Linked DNA regions of Homo sapiens: regions 1, 2 and 4 are each linked to region 3. The links are contacts of gene promoters, found by promoter capture Hi-C in human tissues and cell types (Jung and others, 2019). All regions are on one chromosome and are shown on one strand. The core of a region is centred on a gene start or on the middle of the fragment in contact, and the rest is flanking DNA. Distances in the headings are between cores, read along the strand shown. Region 1 has its middle 83 kb from the start of MIR9899. Region 2 overlaps LYPD6B (LY6/PLAUR domain containing 6B). Region 3 holds the start of LYPD6B (LY6/PLAUR domain containing 6B). Region 4 overlaps LYPD6B (LY6/PLAUR domain containing 6B).

What was found. The method cuts DNA at HindIII sites, captures the fragments that hold promoters and counts their contacts. A contact is called where the count stands out against the background at its distance.
Region 1: a contact is called between a fragment that was not itself captured here and the fragment with the promoter of LYPD6B in region 3, in 4 of the 25 tissues and cell types used here (H1 embryonic stem cells, bladder, liver and 1 more).
Region 2: a fragment that was not itself captured here is called in contact with the fragment with the promoter of LYPD6B in region 3 in 2 of the 25 tissues and cell types used here (H1 embryonic stem cells and spleen).
Region 4: a fragment that was not itself captured here is called in contact with the fragment with the promoter of LYPD6B in region 3 in 4 of the 25 tissues and cell types used here (bladder, mesenchymal stem cells, pancreas and 1 more).

What each region holds. Positions count from the first base shown.
Region 1 is chr2:149,245,189-149,250,240 of GRCh38, reverse strand. No RefSeq gene overlaps it. Among named protein-coding and RNA genes, the nearest start is that of MIR9899, 83 kb to the left of the region's middle. The HindIII fragment of the contact is 4,122 bases long and covers 1,408-5,052 here.
Region 2 is chr2:149,194,697-149,199,732 of GRCh38, reverse strand. All of the region lies in intron 3 of LYPD6B (LY6/PLAUR domain containing 6B), which reads right to left. Among named protein-coding and RNA genes, the nearest start is that of MIR9899, 130 kb to the left of the region's middle. The HindIII fragment of the contact is 4,767 bases long and covers 1-3,965 here.
Region 3 is chr2:149,037,018-149,042,099 of GRCh38, reverse strand. It overlaps LYPD6B (LY6/PLAUR domain containing 6B), which reads right to left and starts at 3,401. Exons shown (of 7, transcript NM_177964.5): 1 at 3,299-3,401. RefSeq lists enhancers at 2,909-2,968, 3,009-3,058, 4,272-4,331 and silencers at 3,139-3,298, 3,309-3,648. The HindIII fragment of the contact is 10,219 bases long and covers 1-5,082 here.
Region 4 is chr2:149,212,470-149,217,321 of GRCh38, reverse strand. It overlaps LYPD6B (LY6/PLAUR domain containing 6B), which reads right to left. Exons shown (of 7, transcript NM_177964.5): 6 at 4,200-4,330; 7 at 2,060-2,776. The coding sequence ends at 2,612. Among named protein-coding and RNA genes, the nearest start is that of MIR9899, 120 kb to the left of the region's middle. The HindIII fragment of the contact is 4,926 bases long and covers 1-3,911 here.

The DNA of each region.
Region 1 (5,052 bases), core at 2,219-4,718, 210 kb before region 3:
TAAGTTTACTGCTATGCAGCCAATGCTAGTAGCTCTGTCCTCTGGTAAAAAAGAAAGCAACATGATATGATAAAATCTGGGCCAGCCTGGGTGCAGTGGTTCATGCCTGTAATCCCAGCATTTTGGGAGGCAGAGGTGAGCAGATCACCTGAGGTCAGGGGTTCAAAACCAGCCTGGCCAACATGGTGAAACTCCGTCTCTACTAAAAATACAAAAATTAGCCAGGCGTGGTGGCACACACCTGTAATCCCAGCTACTTGGGAGGCAGAGGCAGGAGAATCGCTTGAACCTGGGAGGCAGAGGTTGCCGTGAGCCAAGATCGCACCATTGCACTCCAGCTTGGGTGACAGAGTGAGACTCCCTCTCAAAAATACAAAAATTCTGGGCCTAAATCCTTGTCCTACCACTTGTGACCCAGGGCAAATCAAACAACTTCTCTAAATCTCAAATCCTTCCTCTATAAAATAGGGCAGATACCTTTTCCCCTATTTCATTGTTAGGAGCCTCCAATAAGAAAATGTATGTGCATATACTTTATAAACTGTAAATGTGATTTCAAAGAAGGAATTAGTATAATTACCACTTATGATCCTTGGTTTATGTTCTCTTTCAATTATTTTTACATCACTTTTCCAAATCAGTCTATTATTTATTAGTTCTTTTAACTTAAGCAACTTAGCACACAATGAAGACTATAGTAAATGATTAATACCAGCCTTATGAAAACTATCTTCCAGTCTTTATTAATGTACAGGCACAAATCTTTAATTAGAATTAGCTGTAGCATGCCACTTTATATTCTGTCTTTTCCATTTAACATTATACACCATTCTCAGGTATTAACATGCCATGTAAAATAACTATGGCATTGCAAACCATCAACATGCCATAGTTTGCAGCATGGTTCCTGAACGAGCATTGGTATTCAAATATCAACCAATAAACAGAAAGCTTTAGAGGAAAATCTATGTGCTGGGTATACCCTTGCGCAAAAGTGCCAGAATATAATCTAATGGGCTTGGGAGCAGAGACAGTACCCACCTCCTTGGCTGAGAGAATTCTGAGGCCATAACTGAAGGAAGACAGTAATGATGAAAATACTCCTACAGGACAGAGACCTGAAGCCTGCCAACTTACTAACCAAGAAGTAACACTAGATTGATCACAAATCAAAGACCAAAACAGTCCAGTAGGGAGCAAGGAGAATGTATACAAAATGGCCCACAATTTCAGTAGTAGAATTCATGAAAACTTGCATTTGAGTTCTGAATCTGCCTCCAATGAGGGCCACTTAACTTACCATTGGTACTTCACTGTTATAAGTCTTCATTGTTCCATTTATAAGAAAATAGTAGCATCTTACTCATAGGGTTGTTTGGAAAAGCCAATGAGGTCATACACATAAAACACTCAGCAAGTGCTCAAAAATTGCAGATACGAAATTAAGTTTGGCACTATGTTTCCATACGTAACCAAACACAATGTAAAGGCTAAATGAGGTCTCTGCGGAATACGCAAGTCATATCAATCTTGCGGGAATCAGACGTACTCAATGAAGGGGTGCTGACTGAATCCTTTCTTTGGGATGTTAAATGTTTTACAAAAGCAGCACTTTGTTTGCATTCAAACAGTCAGTGAAAGGATAGCACCCATACCTTCTACTCTAAACCCTTGAGTGTCCCCTAGGTGCAGATCCAAAAATTCCAATCATCTAACATTAATAAAGCAATGTACCAGGCAGCCCCACCTGAAGTCTCAGAAAACGTCAGGTTGCAATTCATCCTTCATTAGACAGTATCTATTAGCAAAGGAAAATATCAAAGTCCACTTCCAGATGTTACAGAGTTGTTAATGCGAAGAAGCTTTATCCACATGTGAAAGCAAATTCTGCAGCCTGAGGAAGGCAGGTGCCATGAAAGCAGCACCTTTCATGGAGATTCACAGAGTTACTAAATTCTAAGGGTCTGAAACTGCCCAATAAGCCATGACACCCAGCAGCTTCAGAATGCGTGTTTCTCCTTTTAGTATTGACCCAGAAGTAAAGGTCAGTTCCTTGCTTCGTTTGGCAGAAAAGATAGTTTCCAACATGCAGAAAACATTGAGGAGTTGATGTAGAGAAAGGAACTTGCAGAATTTTTCTATCTTTTTTCCAAAATTTGTTCATTACAGGCATACCCTGTGCTCTCTGAATCCATCTCCTAGGTGTATACTCGACAGTCTTTAAATGTGCACCAAAACACACATACAAGATAGCAATGGTAGCTTCGTTCCTAATGGCCCCAAGGTGGAAATGACCCAAATGTCCACTATTGGAATGGATAAATTATGGTATATTCATATAAAGGAATAATAACCAGCAATAAAAATGAATAAACTACCACAGTATACAATATAAATGAATCTCCCAAACATAATTTTGAATAAAGTCAGACAAATAAAGAATATATACCATATAATTGCTTTTGTAAGAAGCTCAAAAATAGGGCAGCTTAATCTATGGTATGGGAGGTTATGACAGTGGTCACCTTTGGCTGGGGAAAGGGCAGGGGGAAGAAGGGTATAGGGATTGGGAAGGTGTCAGTGACGTTTTGGGATGCTGGGAATGTTCAATTTCCTGATCTAGATGGTAGTATGTGAGTGTGTTAACTTTGTGCTAATTCATCAAACACTTTGATTCGTGCATATTTCTATATGCATATTATATTTCAATTAAAATTTTTATCAAAATAGATTTTTTACCTTATTGCAAATTTCTTTTTTAATTTTCTGTATTTTATGTTTTGACATCTTAAAAAATCTTCCTGGCTAGTGAGAAGCTGCCCTTCTTGGGGCTGGTCAGTTCTTACAGGTAGCAAAGGGCCCAGCCTGTGTCACATATATGTGCAAACTAACCAATCCGGAGCCACACCTCCTCTATCTGGCCATACACCCCAGCGGGTAATATTCTTTTGTCTGATCATCCCCAGGCCAGGTGCCAGATAACTAGGCACCACACCTAAGTCCAAAGCCTGAGGAAATTATTCAAGCTAGCCAGTCCAAAACTATTTACCTGGCCCTGCCTTGCCTTTTTCTGGGGAACCACAATAAAGGCAGTGGCCTAAACTCTTCTTCCTTCTGACCACCTGGTGTCTTTCTCACGTGGCCTTGTGTGGTGTGGCATGACGTTCCTCTTGTCTTCAGGATCTGTAAGCATAACAGACTTTGTTTTCCTGAGCTTCTCCTATATCTCTTCTTATGGCCACACCCGACTGACCATCTCATAAAAGAATACAATACATTTATCAAATTGACTAACACATTAAAAAAAGGAGACATTGCCTTACTGTATAGGACTGATGAACAATTCAATCTAATTTTCCTATAATGAAACGAAGAAAATGAAACCATGTGTTGAAGTTGCCAACTGGGGCATTATCATTAAGTTAAACTTCCTTCTTTTGTCCAAATAACATGATCTGAAGCTCTAATCTAATAATTCATTATTACCATCTTTAAGTTACATTATTTTTATTTATTTGATTTGATAAGTTTCATATATTCATTATTGCTCTGAAACTATTTCTTTTTTTCATATGTACTAACAATCTCTTTTAAACCTTGAGGAGTATCCCACCTATCTTAATAGGCCAAAATTTAATCAACAAATTCATTTTCATATTTAATAATTGTGTTAATGTGTTTGGTATATTCTCTCTGAATATTCCCAGCTTCAACATTTCTAAGGTTTCAGACGCTGCTGATGAAACGCCAGCATTGGAGTTTCTTTTTATACATGTTCTTCCGGCTTCCTGATCAGTTTTGCTGCCTTCTTTGGACTGGGTCCACATTCATTATGTTTTTCCTAAGTTCACAATGTGCAGTGATTACATAGGAGGGGGGGAAACTCTGCATTGAGGAGCCTCCCTCCATCTCTTGCCCAGCCTTTCCTAGGCCTTTTTGGCAGCTTTAAGGAAGACAGCAACCAGTCTGGTTGGCCTGCACCAAAGCTGTTAGCTCACCTTTCATACATGTTATAAAAAATGCATTATTTGTATTTGCCACATTGAAGCTCATCTGCCTCATTTTGAAACACTCCAGAACAGATCCTTATGTTAGCTTTCTAAAAAAAAAAAAAAAAAAAAAAAAAAAATAGCTACTAGACATTCCTAGAGTTTCTTGAGTATTTTTGCAAAGTTGGCAACTTCTGTTCTCCTGCCTTCAAAACAATTATAAAAGACATAAAAATGTATAGGCCCAGCACCAGCTCCTACACGACCTCACATTTGGCCTTGCTGATCCAGAGAAGTACTTATGTAGTTCTTAGTTTACATTTACTGGCATTCGTCTGGTTTCTTATCCTTGATAACATATTTTCCAAAGCCTATGATAATACATTTTTAAAAGATTTTGACATGAAACCTTGTCTGACATTTCAAAAATCCAATACATACATCCAATAGTTGATGCATTCAAATAGTACAATAATAATAATTCACATTGGAAGCTTATCATGTACTGAGCCCCTTGCTAAGTGATTACATGCTTTTCTCTCTTTTAATCCTTTCAAATATCTGATGAGATAAGTACTATCACCATTCCTGAGGTCACTTTTTTTTCTACAATGGCATAGTCTTGATGAGAATTCTGGTATGTCTGATGCTGTCCACACTCTGAACACATTACTACCCGCTTTTCAGCTTACTTACTTCCTTAAGTAATTGAAATAGATACCACATGTTGTGTGAAATATTATGAATCTTCATGATCCCATCTTAAAATTAAAGCACCAAAGTGCATTTCAAAGCTAAATTGAAGTCAATTTTGGATTAGGGACACTCCTAAATAATCTGCCACCCTTAGCATTGGTAATCAACATTTGAATGTAAATAATTACAATTAAAAGAGTAATTGGAAAAAACACTTGACCTAAAGTTTTGGTACAAAGAAAGGAACAGAAGGAATCCCTCCTTTTGTCCCACTTCCCTGCTGCATGAGCATGTGATTCTATTGCACTGAAGATATTGCTAGCAAGCAAATATGTAGGCAGGCATATTCGATGTCTTTATATTTGTT
Region 2 (5,036 bases), core at 333-2,832, 160 kb before region 3:
GTTTAAATATGAATTATTTTAATTTTAATATATTTAAGCTAGCATTCTATGTGCCTGAAGCAGAATAGGAGAGAGAAGTTGAGCTTACAATCAACCCCATCATCTTGATCTGACGATTAGATCTCTATAGAGCACAACAGACTTTACTCTTGGATAACAACATTCAATAGGAAAAAATAAAATCATGATTCAGCCTCAGCCTTCACTATAGCTTGTCCAAACCTTGAAAGTAGTGCAATTATAAGTCATGCATTTGTACCAGGTACTGTACTGAGCACACCGTCCTTGTGCGCTCAAAAATTATTGGGACCAAAAGTCAATATGAGCCACTGGTAAGATGTGACTGACAAGAATTAATACAATCATCTTTGAGAGGAGGAATAACAATGAGCTTTAGGTTCAGAAATACCTAGAAGAAAATTCTGGTTCTACATTTACCAATCAGGTGACCACAGAGTTAAGAAATACTGTGCCCATTTGCCAGTAAGAAAAGTGAGTCTTAGAGTCACACAGGAAACTTCTAAGTTGTGGTGTGGATTGAGCACAATTACATAAGTAAAATACATTTTACTTAGATGGGGTTCAAGAAATCTTAGGTGCCTGCTTCCCGCATTTCTCCCTCCTTCGCCCTTGCTTTAGACATCATTAGCAGCAGAATAGAGATCAGATCAAGTGGCATAAATGTTCAGCTTCATCGCATACTGGCTGGAGTAAATCTGGTCAACAGGATTGAGTTCTGTGCACTGATTTCTTAAGATTTAGAAATTCTCTCTATTGCAACCAAGGGAAAGTTGGAATGAATGACTGCCAAGGTCCCTTCCACTTCTAATATTCTGTAATTTTTATGGAAAGAGATTAATGAAGAATTCTAGTTATTCCATAAAGAGTCATAAATGTAATACAGCAGTCCCATCACATTTCAGATTCCTGCTGTACTGCTTTAAATAATCTAAACTTACAAAAAATCTCATCAAGCATAGGATCAAAAACTCATCAGAAATAAGTAACTCATTTTTTAAGTATAAAGCTGTATATTTTGCAATGCCAAAGACAGAAGCTTTTTCTACTACATGCAACCTGATCAAAGAGAATGTCTAAAGCAGCACTGATGTTAAAATAATTTCATTATGCAAATCAATTTTCAATCTAATCATGAATTAATACATGGCCCATAAGTGTATAATTTGGGTGGAGAAACAGTCTAATCAATTTTAAAGACATCTTTTTAAATGTGATTCAAATTTTAAGAAAAACCTAAAAGACTCTTCTAAGGTAACAGCTCTTCAACTACATTTCTGTCAAAGACAGGATTTTATACCTTTCTGGAGAAGGCTTTCATGACACCAGAAAGGTAACATGGTAAGAGCTCCACATAGAAAAAATTTAAAAGCAGTGAGGCGCGGTGGCTCATGCCTGTAATCCCAGCACTTTGGGAGGCCAAGGTGGGCAGATCATGAGATCAAGAGTTCGAGACCAGCCTGACCAACATGGTGAAACCCTGTCTTTACTTAAAAAATACAAAAATTAGCTCGGCTGGTGGCACGTGCCTGTAATCCCAGCTACTCAGGAGGCTGAGGCAGGAGAATCACTTGAACCTAGGAGGCGGGGATTGCAGTGAGCCGAGGTCATGCCACTGCACTCTAGCCTGGGTGACAGAGCGAGACTCTGTCTCACAAAAAAGAAAAGAAAAAAAAAAAAAGAAAAGCTTAGATGTTTAGGAATTAGAAACTCCCTTTAAAAAGAATCAAGATTGGTTTGCCATGTCTTATCCAACTATTTGGACAAATGGTAGGAACCTAATAAGTGCGTTGATCACATTTGAGAGTCTCCTTCACACAGGTGAAATAATTTTTACCCTGTTTGTTTCCATAAATGATTTTTAGGAGGCTTATGCCAAGTCATGTATGCATTAAAGCTCTTAAAATACTGAATAAAACCCATACTGGATGAGAGGATAGCAAAGATCCTAACCCCTTCCATGAACGAAGCACTCAGCTGTGCATTTCCCTTTGCTCTGTACTTCCTAGAAGCCAGGGGAGACATGGGACGCACTGATTCTCATTATTTGAGAAAAGATAACTCTTCCTGATACTTAATTCTCTAATTAATGAGTCATACCAGCTACAATATAGGGGGCACCAAGCAACATATGAATAACACCTGAAATTCGTTTTGAGGACCTCCAGATGCATCCATCATTTGGCCATTTATTTATTTTTCTTGAGACAGAGTCTCGCTCTATCATCAGGCTTGAGTGCAGTGGTGCGATCTCGGCTCACTGCAACCTCCACCTCCCAGGTTCAAGCGATTCTCCTGCCTCAGCCTCCTGAGTAGCTGGGACTATAGGCGTGTGCCACCACGCTCAGCTAATTTTTGTATTTTTAGTAGAGACGGGGTTTCACCATGTTGGCCAGGATGGTCTCGATCTCTTGACCTTGTGATCTGCCCGCCTCGGTCTCCCAAAGTGCTGGGATTACAGGCATGAGCCACCGTGTCTAGCCTGACCATTTCTTTAAAAAAGCCAAGGACATAACATGGAAAGGTAATTCTATACAGACCCTTCTGCTATCAGGTATATAAATGAAAGATTTGTTTTTCTTTTCCATGGGAGAGGAGTGTCTTTATACTTGAGAGAAAGATATAGGTGGACAGAAGTTCTGCAGGAGAGCTGCTCTCTTTATTGAACTCATTTCTTTTAATAACCAATCAAAGCTCTCTTAAGAGAAATGGAGGCTGAAATGTCCTGCAGCTGGCTAACAGTCCATTACTCGACATTGGTTGAGTGGAGGAGTGTATCATGCCACAAATGCACTCTAATACGTGGCATTCAGTTGAGGAAATTTAGCATTCAGGGTCACTCGGTGTGTAAGGTGATGGCTAGCACTTTTTGACTTCGTTTAGCCTCAGCTGACATAGAAAAATGATCGTAAAAATAAAGTTTTCATACAGATGTGTTTCTCACTTGAGAAATGTCTCTGTATATGTGTGTTTGGATATGTGTATATGTGCATATACACAGACATACATATATTTTATTGAATGAATTCATTGCTTAAGCACTGTGTGCCAGATTGTAAAATTGTCCCTAGAACTCTGTTTAGGAGACAGTATTCCCTATAATCTCAACTGCCTTCAGCACCCACATGGTTATCTTTCAACTGGGAGAGCTGCACGATGCAGAATTGTTACTATGCATCTGTCCTGTCTTTTTACTTCTGTCCTAGGGTTTCATGTCGCTGACCATTGTTTATAAAGCCCCCACTCACTCAACTTTATTCTTGAATCCACATCTAGAAATATATTACCCAAGTAAAGAACATGTTTGTAGATATCTATCATTTTGAAACAGGAGGGCATTTAAAAACGAACAATAAACTGCATGCTATGGCAAAGAATATCATGCTGACTTTTGCATAGTCACAAAATCCAGAACAGATTATTCAAAGAACTCTCTGGAAGCTGACAAGCTTATAAAAGCAATACTAATAAAAAATTTCTGCATTCTGAATATATAACAAAGTTACAGCGTGTCACTTGCTCCATAAATTGCCACTATTACCACTTGGAGCAGAAGGAAATGTACATATATAAAGATATATATGTGCATAATTTCATATTCCCTGGAAACTGAAAAATTATGTATGTTAAATAGTGTTTTAATTGCAAAATGAAAAACTACATTAAATGGTTCACGATACGGTTCATGGTCCCACAAGGGTAAAGTCAAGTGTAAATGCTGCCTAGTATAATGGGGAGAAACCGGCCTCTGGAGGCACTCAGGCCTGGGGGCAAATTCTAGCTCTGTCCAGGATCTACTGCCTCTAGCTGATCACTGGATTGCTCTGAGACTGTTTCCCTATCAGTAAAATAGAGATATCAAATACCTATATTGCAGAGAGTTTTATGCAAATTAAAGGAGAATAAAAAATAAGCCCCTATCTATTTCCATTTTTGTCAAATTATTAAATCACTTAGAAAGCTCAATACAGAGATTTATTGTTCCTCTATGGATGATCATACAGGCCAATATCATTAAGGCCATACAATAGCTGACAAGATTTAAGACTGAAATTCAATATACATATTTTCAGCTCTCAAATTCTATGATTATCTGAGCACATATGACAGCAGAATGTAAAATTCCTCTGAAGACCAATTTTAAGAAAACTACTCTAACATACATGTGAGAGCAGTATTTAGGCTTCACTGGAGCATTTCCATTTATCAGCCTTCTGGTAAATCTATATGATTTGCCTATACTCATAAATAACACGCAGTAGTTCTCATAGCATTTGCTTTAAAAAGCAACAGGCTCTGTGCTTTCATTCGTATCATTGTTTTATTGCCTCAAGTGTGTGTCATACTTCCCATTCTGCTTTGAAGGTCCAGTTCATATATTTTTCATTCACAAAATCTTTCCATGCCTACTCCAGCCCATGAGTTGGTCTCTAGCCTGAAGAAAGCTTGGAGTTTGCTTGTGGACACAGACTGTCCTTCCTTGCTTAGCAATGGGTTGGGCAGAGAAGGCCCAGTCTATGTTTGGAGATGGGCTGAAGGTCTCTAAGTGAACACAGACCTCATACGCTTGCAGATATTGCAAATTTTAAAAAAATGACTTTTCACCTTTTTTGCCAACAGAATTGCCATTTCTATTTTGATTGTTCATTTAAGTGAACAATGTTTTAAGTTTTGTAACAATCTTTTAACAACATTCTTCTTTTAAGTTACCCACGTGGAAATTATGAGAACTCCATTTTCAGCAACTGAAGGTCTGTTCAACAACGGCCTAGTACATTCACCTGTGATTCAACACACACTGTGTGGGGCTTGAAATACACTACAATCACACCACCTTCCCAAGCTATCCCAGTCGGTGAAAGGGAAATGAACTCTCCTTGGCTTCCCTCTTTGCTTCTCCAGAAACACCCTCTATCCCTCTCCACCCTACACTGTGCTCTGGGAAGCTGAGCTAAAGAATGCTCACATAGTTCCCTTTCCACTGGCTGCTGGTTTGGTTTGGCCAATAGCAGGTGCTG
Region 3 (5,082 bases), core at 2,152-4,651:
ACTGAAACAAAGTCATGATTTAGAGCAACTAAGTGTTCTCAAGAGAGGGACAGGGAGTTTCCGGGGAAGGTAGGCAGTGGGTGCCCAGCAAAATCATATGTGAGGCTTTTCAAACTACACAGGGTTTGAAACTCTTCTGAAACTCCTCCACCCCAATCCACCCCTTGAGAATTGCCACCATAGAGTGAGCCACTGTTGCTATTACTATTGGGAGTATGGAAAACTCAGAGAAGCTTTTCCAGGTTTCAGGTGTAAGCTTGTTGAGGAATTGGACCAAGATTTACTATGCTTCTTAGTGACATCCATGGAATCTAATACAGGGTAGTCCTGTCTTTACTTACTTTTCCAACCTCAGCTCCTTTCCTCCCCTCAGCCACACCCTAGGCATCTCCCATGGTATTGGACTTCTGATTACCAATCTGTGCCAGACCTTGCATCACCTGTCCCCACCTCTGGGAGACACAGTTTGTTGCCTACCTAACAGCCCAACAGGCAGTCTCACTTTCCTCCTTGCTAACAGAATTCTGATTGTGTTCAGACATGGAGCATGGATGCTCAGGTAGGTGAGCCCCTCCTACAGCTCCGGAAAATAGCTTGGGCAAAACAATCATGGGCCCCTCTTCTCCTTTGCCAATGACTGGTTTCAGGGTAAGCGTTAGACCACTTTGGCCAGTGACGCGGGGAACTTCGGGGAAAATTTGTCCTTTATTATCTAGAGAAAGATTAAGCAGCAAGCCCCGGCCTTCTTTTTTCTGCTTTGGATGTTGTCATGTGAAGGCATGATGGAGCTCTAGTCACCCTGGAAAAAGAAGATAATTTTCTAGAAGCCACCAAAGAGCTGTGGCCACTTCGAACGACCTACCTTCAGATGTTCTAAGCAAGAAAGTAGAGTAACCTAAACATATTACAACAAAAAGTGTCCCTCTGGAATCCTACCACATGGCCTAGAATTTTTCTCCTAGACCAGCCCTTCTCATTTTCTTTTTTTTTTTTTTTTTTTTGAGACGGAGTCTTGCTCTGCTGCCCAGGCTGGAGCTCATTTTCAATTCAAAGCTCAACTACAGTTTCTTTGGGGAGTCTTCACTACGTCCCCAGACAGATGAGTCCTAGACGATGTTATCCTCATATCTGTCTTTCCAACTAGACTGTGAGCTTCTCAAAAGCAAGCATTTTCGCCCTTGGCAGAGGCCCTGGCATATGTTGAGCATTTATTATATGTCGAATGAATGAATAAACAAAAAACAATGAATGAAAAGATGGACACACAGGATGCCCTCCATGCATTAGATGAAGACTTGACTGATGGAATACGGCCCTCAGGCTGTCTACATTCTACTGCAGACTACCTTTAGGCGCTGGTGAGCAAAGACAGAGATAGTAAAATGAACATGTCCTGTTTTGTCAGACTTCTCATTGGGAATTGCGCCCCCTACCGACATGCCTTGCAGCAGAGGTGGGCCAGTCTATCAATCACAGTCGGTCATGTGCCCATTCCTGTTGTGTAAACCTCTCCCTGTCTGCTGAGATGGCTTGGTTCTGTTTTGGTCCAGTATGTCAATAAGATTGCTATAAGGGGCCGGGTGCAGTGGCTCACTCCTATAATCCCAGCACTTTGGGAGGCCAAGACGGGCAGATCACTTGAGGTTAGGAGTTCGAGACCAGCCTGGCCAACATGGTGAAACCTCATCTCCACTAAAAATACAAAAATTAGTCCCACGTGGTGGCCGGCGCCTGTAACTCCAGCTACTTGGGAGGCTGAGGCAGGATAATCGCTTGGACCTGGGAGGTGGAGGTTGCATGCAGTGAGCCGAGATCACACCACTGCACTCCAGCCTGGGTGACAGAGTGAGAGTCTGTCTCAAAAGAAAAAAAAAAAAAGAGAGAGAGAGAGAGAGACAGAGAGAGACTGCTATACGGATAGAGAAGATGGGATTCTCTCTCTCCCTCTTTGTCTCTGTCTCTCTCTCTGAAGGAGCAGATAAGCCTGAAGGTGCAAGTCCTATTTATCGTCCATACTAAGAACCAGTAAACACAGAGAGAAAAACAGCTAAGATATACAAGAGAGAGAACTAGCCCTGGAACCTTGTATGAGCCTCTGGAACTAGCTATAGCTTTAAACTGAAACCCTCGACCTTTTCATTTATGTGACCCAATCAATTTCTACATAGTATAAGGCAATTTTCAAGTGACCAAAACCCAACCCAAAGAAAACAATTCTGACAAATACGATGGGTAATGATGAGGGCAGTCTGACAACACCCCCTCCATCTGCAGGGCCCGTGCACTGGCAGCCCTAATCTTGGCCTCTGTGATGCTGTCAGCAAGTAAGGCATCCTGGAGGAAGCCTAACCATGAACAAGTCAGGGTGGGAAAGAATGCCCCCACCCCACAACACACACATCACCACATCAACACAAAGGGGGAAAAATCAAGCAGTATGCTATGTACTCCATGAACATCATATAACCTAAGTCTGTTGTAATGATTATAATATTAATAATACCTATTTTACTTTAAGGGAACTGAGGCTCAGAGCAGTTCAGTAACTTGCCCAAGGTCACACAGCTAGTTACTGGAATTTAAATAGCATTCTAGACTTTTCCCACTCTCTGATCCCCTGGCCTTGGGAGGTGGACAGCACCCCTCCACCCACCAGCTCCCCCCAAACGCCACAGGGCATACAGACCTGAAGCCTCACAACCCAAGCCCCCTGGAGTCAGAGCAGCCTCCAGACCCGGCTTTTGAGAAGCCCCAGGTAACTAACCAATGTGTAAGGTAGGTTATTCAACAACAAAAGTAAAGAGCCGGGGCAAGGGAAGCGGCGGCACCCAAGCTGGTCGCGCGTGAAGCGCTGCAGGGGGAAACACTGGAGCTGGCACGCTCGCTCTTGGCCCCACGATCGGCCTTGAACCCCAGCCCCAGCTCCGCGCTCTCTCCAGCAGTTTGACCCCCAGTATCTCCTCTCCCCTCGGCTCTGCCGAAGTCACTGGCCCCGCAGGGCTCTGGACGATTAGAGACCCACACCGCTCCAGCCTTGCCCCGGCCCCCTGCTCCCGTCCCGTCCAGATGTTGGCAGCTGCTCGCCTCGAGGCAGCGACCAGACCCCGACCCCGCCACTGCGCCGCGGCCCCGCGGCCCCGCGGCCCCGCGGCCCCGCGAGCTCCTGGCTGCCCCAGCGCGCCCAGAAGGGGCGCAGCGCATCTCCCGCCGCAGTCGCGCGGCCCCGCACTCGCTCCGGCGCGGGGTGAGCCGTCCCGAACCCACCACCGCCCCCGCCTGCTGCGCTGGCCCAGCTCACCTCGCCGCCCGCGCCCACCGAGCCTCTCGGCGCCCTCACCCGGCTCCCGGCCCAGGCTCCCAGCGCACCCGCCTGGGGCCGGCGTTGGCTGCTACCGCGCGGGGCGGGGCGCGGCTCCTCCCTGCCCTGAACCACCTGGGGCGCGGGAGGGGGCCGGGCCGGGACAGGTGAGCCTCGCCCGCGAGGGAGCAGCCCCGGGCCCGGCTCCGCTGGGAAACCGCAGGGCTCCACCACGAGGTTGAAAGGAGGCCCAGGCGGGCGGCAGTGTGGTAGTGGCCAGCGCTGGGGAGGCGGCAAGGAGCCTGTTCCCACCCAGCCAGCCCGGCTCAGGAAGTGAAAGAAGCACGGGATTCGGACCCCACCCAGCTTAAAGAGGGGAGGGTCCAACCCCTTTCTTCCTAGAAAACCAATGTAGAAACGAGGAGTGCAGACCCTCGGGAGTGAAAATGATTGGGCCAAGGGTGCAGGTGAGTTAGTTCAGGATTGGAAGAACTCTGAAAGACCTTTTTTGACCATTCCATCCAACCCCGTCCCCACCTTGCCCACCCGTCAAGTGATTCCCTCCCCCTTTTTAAATAATGACATTAAGCTATAAATAAGATAATTTCATATAGTGACGTCCTCCCCACCCCTGGACGGTAAGCCCCAGGAGAGGCAGGAACCTTACCCGTCCACTACTGAATCACCAGAGCTTTGAAAACTCAGGGCATTTAATACCTGATGAACAGACTAGGTGGCGCCCAGTCTTTTGCGTCCAGCGTTAGACTGGTCCCCTCGGCCCAGAGCTGCTCCAGCATCATTCCAAGCTTACTAGGGAGAATCCAGAGGCAAGCTGTTAGATTCCGGGCCACCTGTCCTCTCTCTACTGCTTACTCCCCACCCACTGCCAGCCAGGCAGCTGGGATGTGGGAGGTCTACACTCCCAGGGCACCTTATAGTGGTCAAGCAAATCTTTAACTTCTGAAGATGCCACAGACAGGAGAACTCTGAAATAAAACACTGTCCGGCCAGCCTTGCACTGTGGAAACACAGCTCAGAGTATGGGCCACTGACCCAAGATTCCATGGCTGGTAGCAAAGCTGATCCTGGGTCTGCATTTCTAAAGACAGTTGGCTGGTCTGGGGCCTTTGAGGGGCTGCTGGTTATGCCTGCAGTGGGGAAACCTGGGTACAGAACTTCTGCAGAAGTGGGGTCTGGGTTTGGTCCTCTGCTGAGACTTCTAATCTGTCTTTCCAGACCTCTGAGGTCAAGCATCTCCTGAGCCAGCTTGCATTTATTGAGGCCCCTGACAACCGCAAAAACAAAAACAATGGTATTTTTAGGTGTTCCATTTAACAAATGGCCTTCACTCACACACACACACACACACACACACACACACACACACACACACGAGGTAATGTGTCATGCTGCTCCTCACATGTTAATTTCAAGACTCGTTAAAAAAATCCATTCCGTGAAAAAATTCATTTCACTGCAGAAAGCACTGTACAACTTTAAAGTTGTATGGAGAACATTCCTTCTTATGACTATTTCAGTACACTTCCGTGACTATATATTAAACCTCCAAGGCCAAAATGGGAGGATCTCTATTAAGGTGAGGTCAGGGCCAAGAAGACTGCTCCACCCCTCCACTGACAACAAGCCCAACACTCTTAAGGTCTAGACACCCCACCCCTTCAGTGGGTTCTGCACATATGGGTATTTCAGATCTGGTGTTACCTGGCTGGCTACGTCACACTGGGCAAGGCCAACCTAGAAAAGGTTATATGGGATGCCCCACC
Region 4 (4,852 bases), core at 199-2,698, 180 kb before region 3:
AACCGTGGTTGCTTGTGTATGTGTTTATTACTTATTAGCATACCTATTATGTGGCCAAGGAGCAGGCTTCAGAAGAAGGAATGATCCTCTCACATCAGAGGTAACACCTGGATAAGCATTATCATCACCCGAGAGCTTTTGTTTGTTTAAATTTAACTTTCAGCTATTGGGGTAGGCTTGAGCTTCACCTCAGAGCTACTGAATCAACATCTCCAGAATGTCCTGGGAACTTGTTTTGTTTTGGAGTTACTCAGAAGATTCAGATTTATTACAAGGATTTGAAACCATTTCCTTAGACAAGCCCATCTTGTGAGTTCATGAATAACTTACACAAAAAATTATTTGATTTTATCTGAAATTCAAATTTGGTGGGGAATCCCATATTTTTATTCATAATCCCCTGTTCACTCAGCTGCCTTTACCAGAAGTTTGTTTCCTTTGCACTCCCTCCTTTGCTCAACATACCCCGATTTTAAATGCTTAAGGGAATGGAGGTGAGACGTGAAATCCATATGAACTTGATGTTCAGGGTGAAGAAGAGAAAATTAAGATATTTCCTCAGGAAAGAAAAAAACACACACAAAAGAAACTTCATTAATCTATACAGCAGAAACAAAATCAGAGAAAAAAAAGTGCTGTCTGCTAATGGTTTTTTACCAGACAATTTGTCAATTACACAGTCAAAAGAAACCCTGGGGAATAAAAAGATGCCAAAGATGCCATTAAAATTTCCAAGTGAAGCCATATATAATTATTTTCAAACAAGTATAAGCTATGAAAATGCAAATACTTCAAGATGCTGAGTGAAAGATAGGATAAATCTACATTAGGCTTCAAAACTGATGCTACCAAGTGAGTCTAAGTTTGGGCCAGAGACAGGGAGATAATGATGTCTGCCCCCTCCCTGTTTGATAGGACGCTAAGGAGCCTTAAGATGAAATGCTCCCAGTGTGTCAAGGATGAGAAGAAACATAAATACAGCTCAGCCCCTGACATCAGTACATAACTACAAGATGGAATCAAATACATGAAACAATCAAAACAGAAGACAAATTCACTGACTCAGAAGACAAAGAAAACAAGGGAAGTGATTTGGCCAACCATTGCTCAGGCTGAGTAACCACCATTAGCAACATGGTGCCTGCAAAGAAAGTGGCTTTCTCCTTAAGCAGTCTTGACATCCCATAGGTTAGGGGTCAGCAAATTTTTCCTGAAAAGGGCAAGATAGTAAAGCTTTTAGACTTTGCAGACTATGCAGTCTCTGCTGCATCTCTGCAACCCTGCCATTATAGCACAAAAGGAGACACACACAATACATAAACAAGTGGCCATGGCTGTGTTTTAATAAAAACTTATTCACAAAAATGGGTGGTGGAATGTATTTGGCCTGTGGGCCATAATTTGCCAACTCATGTCATAGGTGAGCCCATATGGCAAGGATAGCATCATTAATACCTAGAGCCTACAAGGGCACCCAGCATTCTAATGATGGATATTTAATTGGGGGGAAAAACCCATTCCATTAGCTCATCACTATAAATACAAGGGCAGAGAGTTTAAAAGTCATCCCAAAGTGTGACTGAAGGCAGGAAATCAGAATTCTAGAAACAGGAAGAAGATGCTCATTTGAAATTCAGAGATTGCACTGTAAGTGGAAAGAGAAGAGAATGGGACCAAACATTTAGCATGTATTTACAGAAGTTCTCTTGGTAGACATGGCATGCATAGAGAATATGACTGAAGGAGGAAAATGGACCCCCCCTTGCCACTTTCTGTGACTAGAACTTTTGAAGCTACTACTGCTGAGGGTGCATCATATGACAAGGTGTCATCTTCCTTTATCAGGGAGGCTTCCCAGATATTCTCAATTCACTAAGTTTGTATTAACATCCTAAAATGCATCTCTCCCCCAAAAGAAAAAAGCTAAATAGCTTCAGCATCAAATTTTATAGTTTAACACATATCACCAACGGTTCATGGACACAAATGTCTATTTTATGACCCTGGTAACTGTTTCACCAGAGGTCTCCACATCAGTCAAGAAACACACAAGCATGCATTTACATTGTATAATTTAAAAGCTTTATTTCCCCCCATAATTTGCAAATAGATTTCATATTAGTTCCACTGGAAGTTTTCTTCGTACAGTTGCCTTTCTCATTGACTATGCTGTTGGTGGGGAAAACTGCTTTCTCATGAGGGGAAGGGTTAGATTTCATAGAGATGCTCTGAGCTAATCACATAAACAAGAGGGTTTGACCTGGCAGCCTCTGAGGCAGTCAAGGAGGTCAAGAAATCCTTTCAGCTAAAGGCCTAGTCAGGTGGGACTAGTTGCCAGGATCCTCTCTGCAGAACTGCCCAAACGTAGCTCTCTTTGACCAGGAAGCCTGGAAGTCAGACCATCTTCTCAGGCCCTGCCAAATTCCCATCCTCAGTCCTGTGGCCTCATGCGGGAACATTTTATCCAAGCAAACCACTGGCTTTCGCCTTGAGGTCCAATGTGCACTCTTCACCAAGTGCAAGATTGATCTTCACTCCAAAGTTCACCGTTCACACAGTTTTTGGCTTGTGCTTTAGAGGCTGGTCTCTGCCTCTCCTAGGAATGGTGGCATCACAGCAATGGAAGCACAAAGACCCAGGCAAGCACTGGTAGGTAGAGTGTGGGGGCACTGCTGCCAGATGTTCTCTGAGCGTGCATTACGGCAAACACTGCATTAGTGTGATTGGTGGGTAATTCTACATTGCAGATCATTCCTTCACAGCAAGACCTACACTCCTGTTACAAAAAAGGAGAGAGGAAATGACAGTGAATAATAGAAGAGGGAAGGGGCAAAAGAAAGAAAGATAAAACAAAGGCTTCTTGAGCTCTATCTGAAGACAGACAATTGGAGTTGGTTATCCAATTTTGCATCATCTAGGCTCTTGGGTACCCTTCCCCCACCAATGCCAATAGAATGGAAGGGAAAAACCATGCTGAAAGTCTTTTATCCTAACTGTGATTTATCTGCATCAAATCCAAGCATTAGCAAGGCAAAGAGGAAGAGAAACTGCATAAGAGTGCTTGATTGAGTCCACAAATCTTCTAAAGGTTTGTAAGGGAAAACACTCAGACAAAAATGAAAGCTAGGAACCTTTCGGATTAGTCATTGATTTTCTTTCTCAGTGCTACTTGTTAGGGGATAATAATGACTCTCTATTGTCTATGCTAACACCTGATTCTTATCATTACAGCAACAATGGTTTACTAATTATGGTTGCTGAGTGGTGTAAGAAAAAATAAAGGCTTGTCCCTAACTGGTGTTTTCAGGGGATGTTTTCAGGTAATACCAAACCGTGCCAGGTACAATGTCTCAACCTGATAAACCCAGCCATTCATAGAGGCTTCCAGGATGACTAGGTATGATAAAGGCATCAACTCTAGGCATCCATATCAGTGGTTCTCAACCCTGGCTGCACATCAGAATCACCTCGGGGAACTTTTTAAAAAGATCCTGACACCCAGGACCTTACCCTGAGGTTCCATTTCAACTGGTCTGGAGAGCCTGCCGGCCTGCATCCCTCAACAACAAGCAGAGCTTGTAAAAGCTACCCAGGTGATTCTTGTGTAGCTAGAGTTAAAAGCCACTGATATGAGAATCATTTTCTGTACTTATTACAGGGTAAATCAAATTCTAAAACCTCATGAAATGAACATATTTTCAAGTAATTCTTTCTTAAGCATTTCAGAATTCCAGGCATATAAAGGAGTGAAATGCTCATTTAGAATGATAGAATGAGAACGTTAAAGCCATCAATTGATCTAAAAGGTATCTACAGTTCATCATATTAAACTGAGGCTAATCCTTCAGACTCCCTTCCTCATCTAAGCAGAAGCAGTGAATAAGACAAGGGTTCCTTCATTTCTTTGGTCTCCATTTTATGTTTGTACGGAGTCTCTGTTCTTTGGTCTCCATTTTATCTTTGTATGGAGTCTGTTCTTTGGTCTCCATTTTATCTTTGTATGGAGTCTCTGTTCTTTGGTCTCCATTTTACCTTTGTATGGAGTCTGTTCTTTGGTCTCCATTTTATCTTTGTATGGAGTCTTTCCTCAAAATGTAAACATGGTCCACATATTACTATCCTTCCTGCCTCTCCTTTGATCTACGACTTACATTACTAGGATGAAAGTTTAGACAATAACACACACACACGATCCTTACCGTATGTTCAGAATCTCGGCTGTGGTGGCAACCGACAAAATGACATTCACTTCTGGAGGCACACTTTTTGGTGATGGATGTGCTTCTTCCGTGGCTGGTGAAGTGATGAACTGTCAAACAGTACTGTGTATCTAGGCAAGAGGAAACAAAAAACAAAACCAAGAAACAAGGTAATTTCAATATCCATATTACAAAAGAGATCTCTTAACAATTAATGCAGAAAGGACTCAAATTCAGGCCAGTCCTGGGGTTTTTAGGCAAGACATTTCATAGCAGTGAACTCTGAAGTTTCTAGGTGATATTTTTCAAAGGACACCAGCTTCTGAAGAACATATGTGTTTTGAAAATGAACGTAAATGGGCGCTCATCCTGTGGTTTCAGTTAGAGCTGAGGAAAAACTGCAAGCATTTTATCAAAACATGGGTCTGCTCATTTGATATGAAAATATTTATGTCTCTGGCCCTCTCTCTCCCTCTGAAGCACGTTCTCGAAATCTAAAATAAAATGAAAATTGTGATGGTAAAACGCAATGGGTCAGAACAGTTGTTTCATTATACAGTTGTTTCATTACTCATCATTTTTCTCTTGTATACTAATAGGCCATGTGGTGAGCTGGGGTGAAAAGCAGGTGCTTCGAATTATACATCACAATC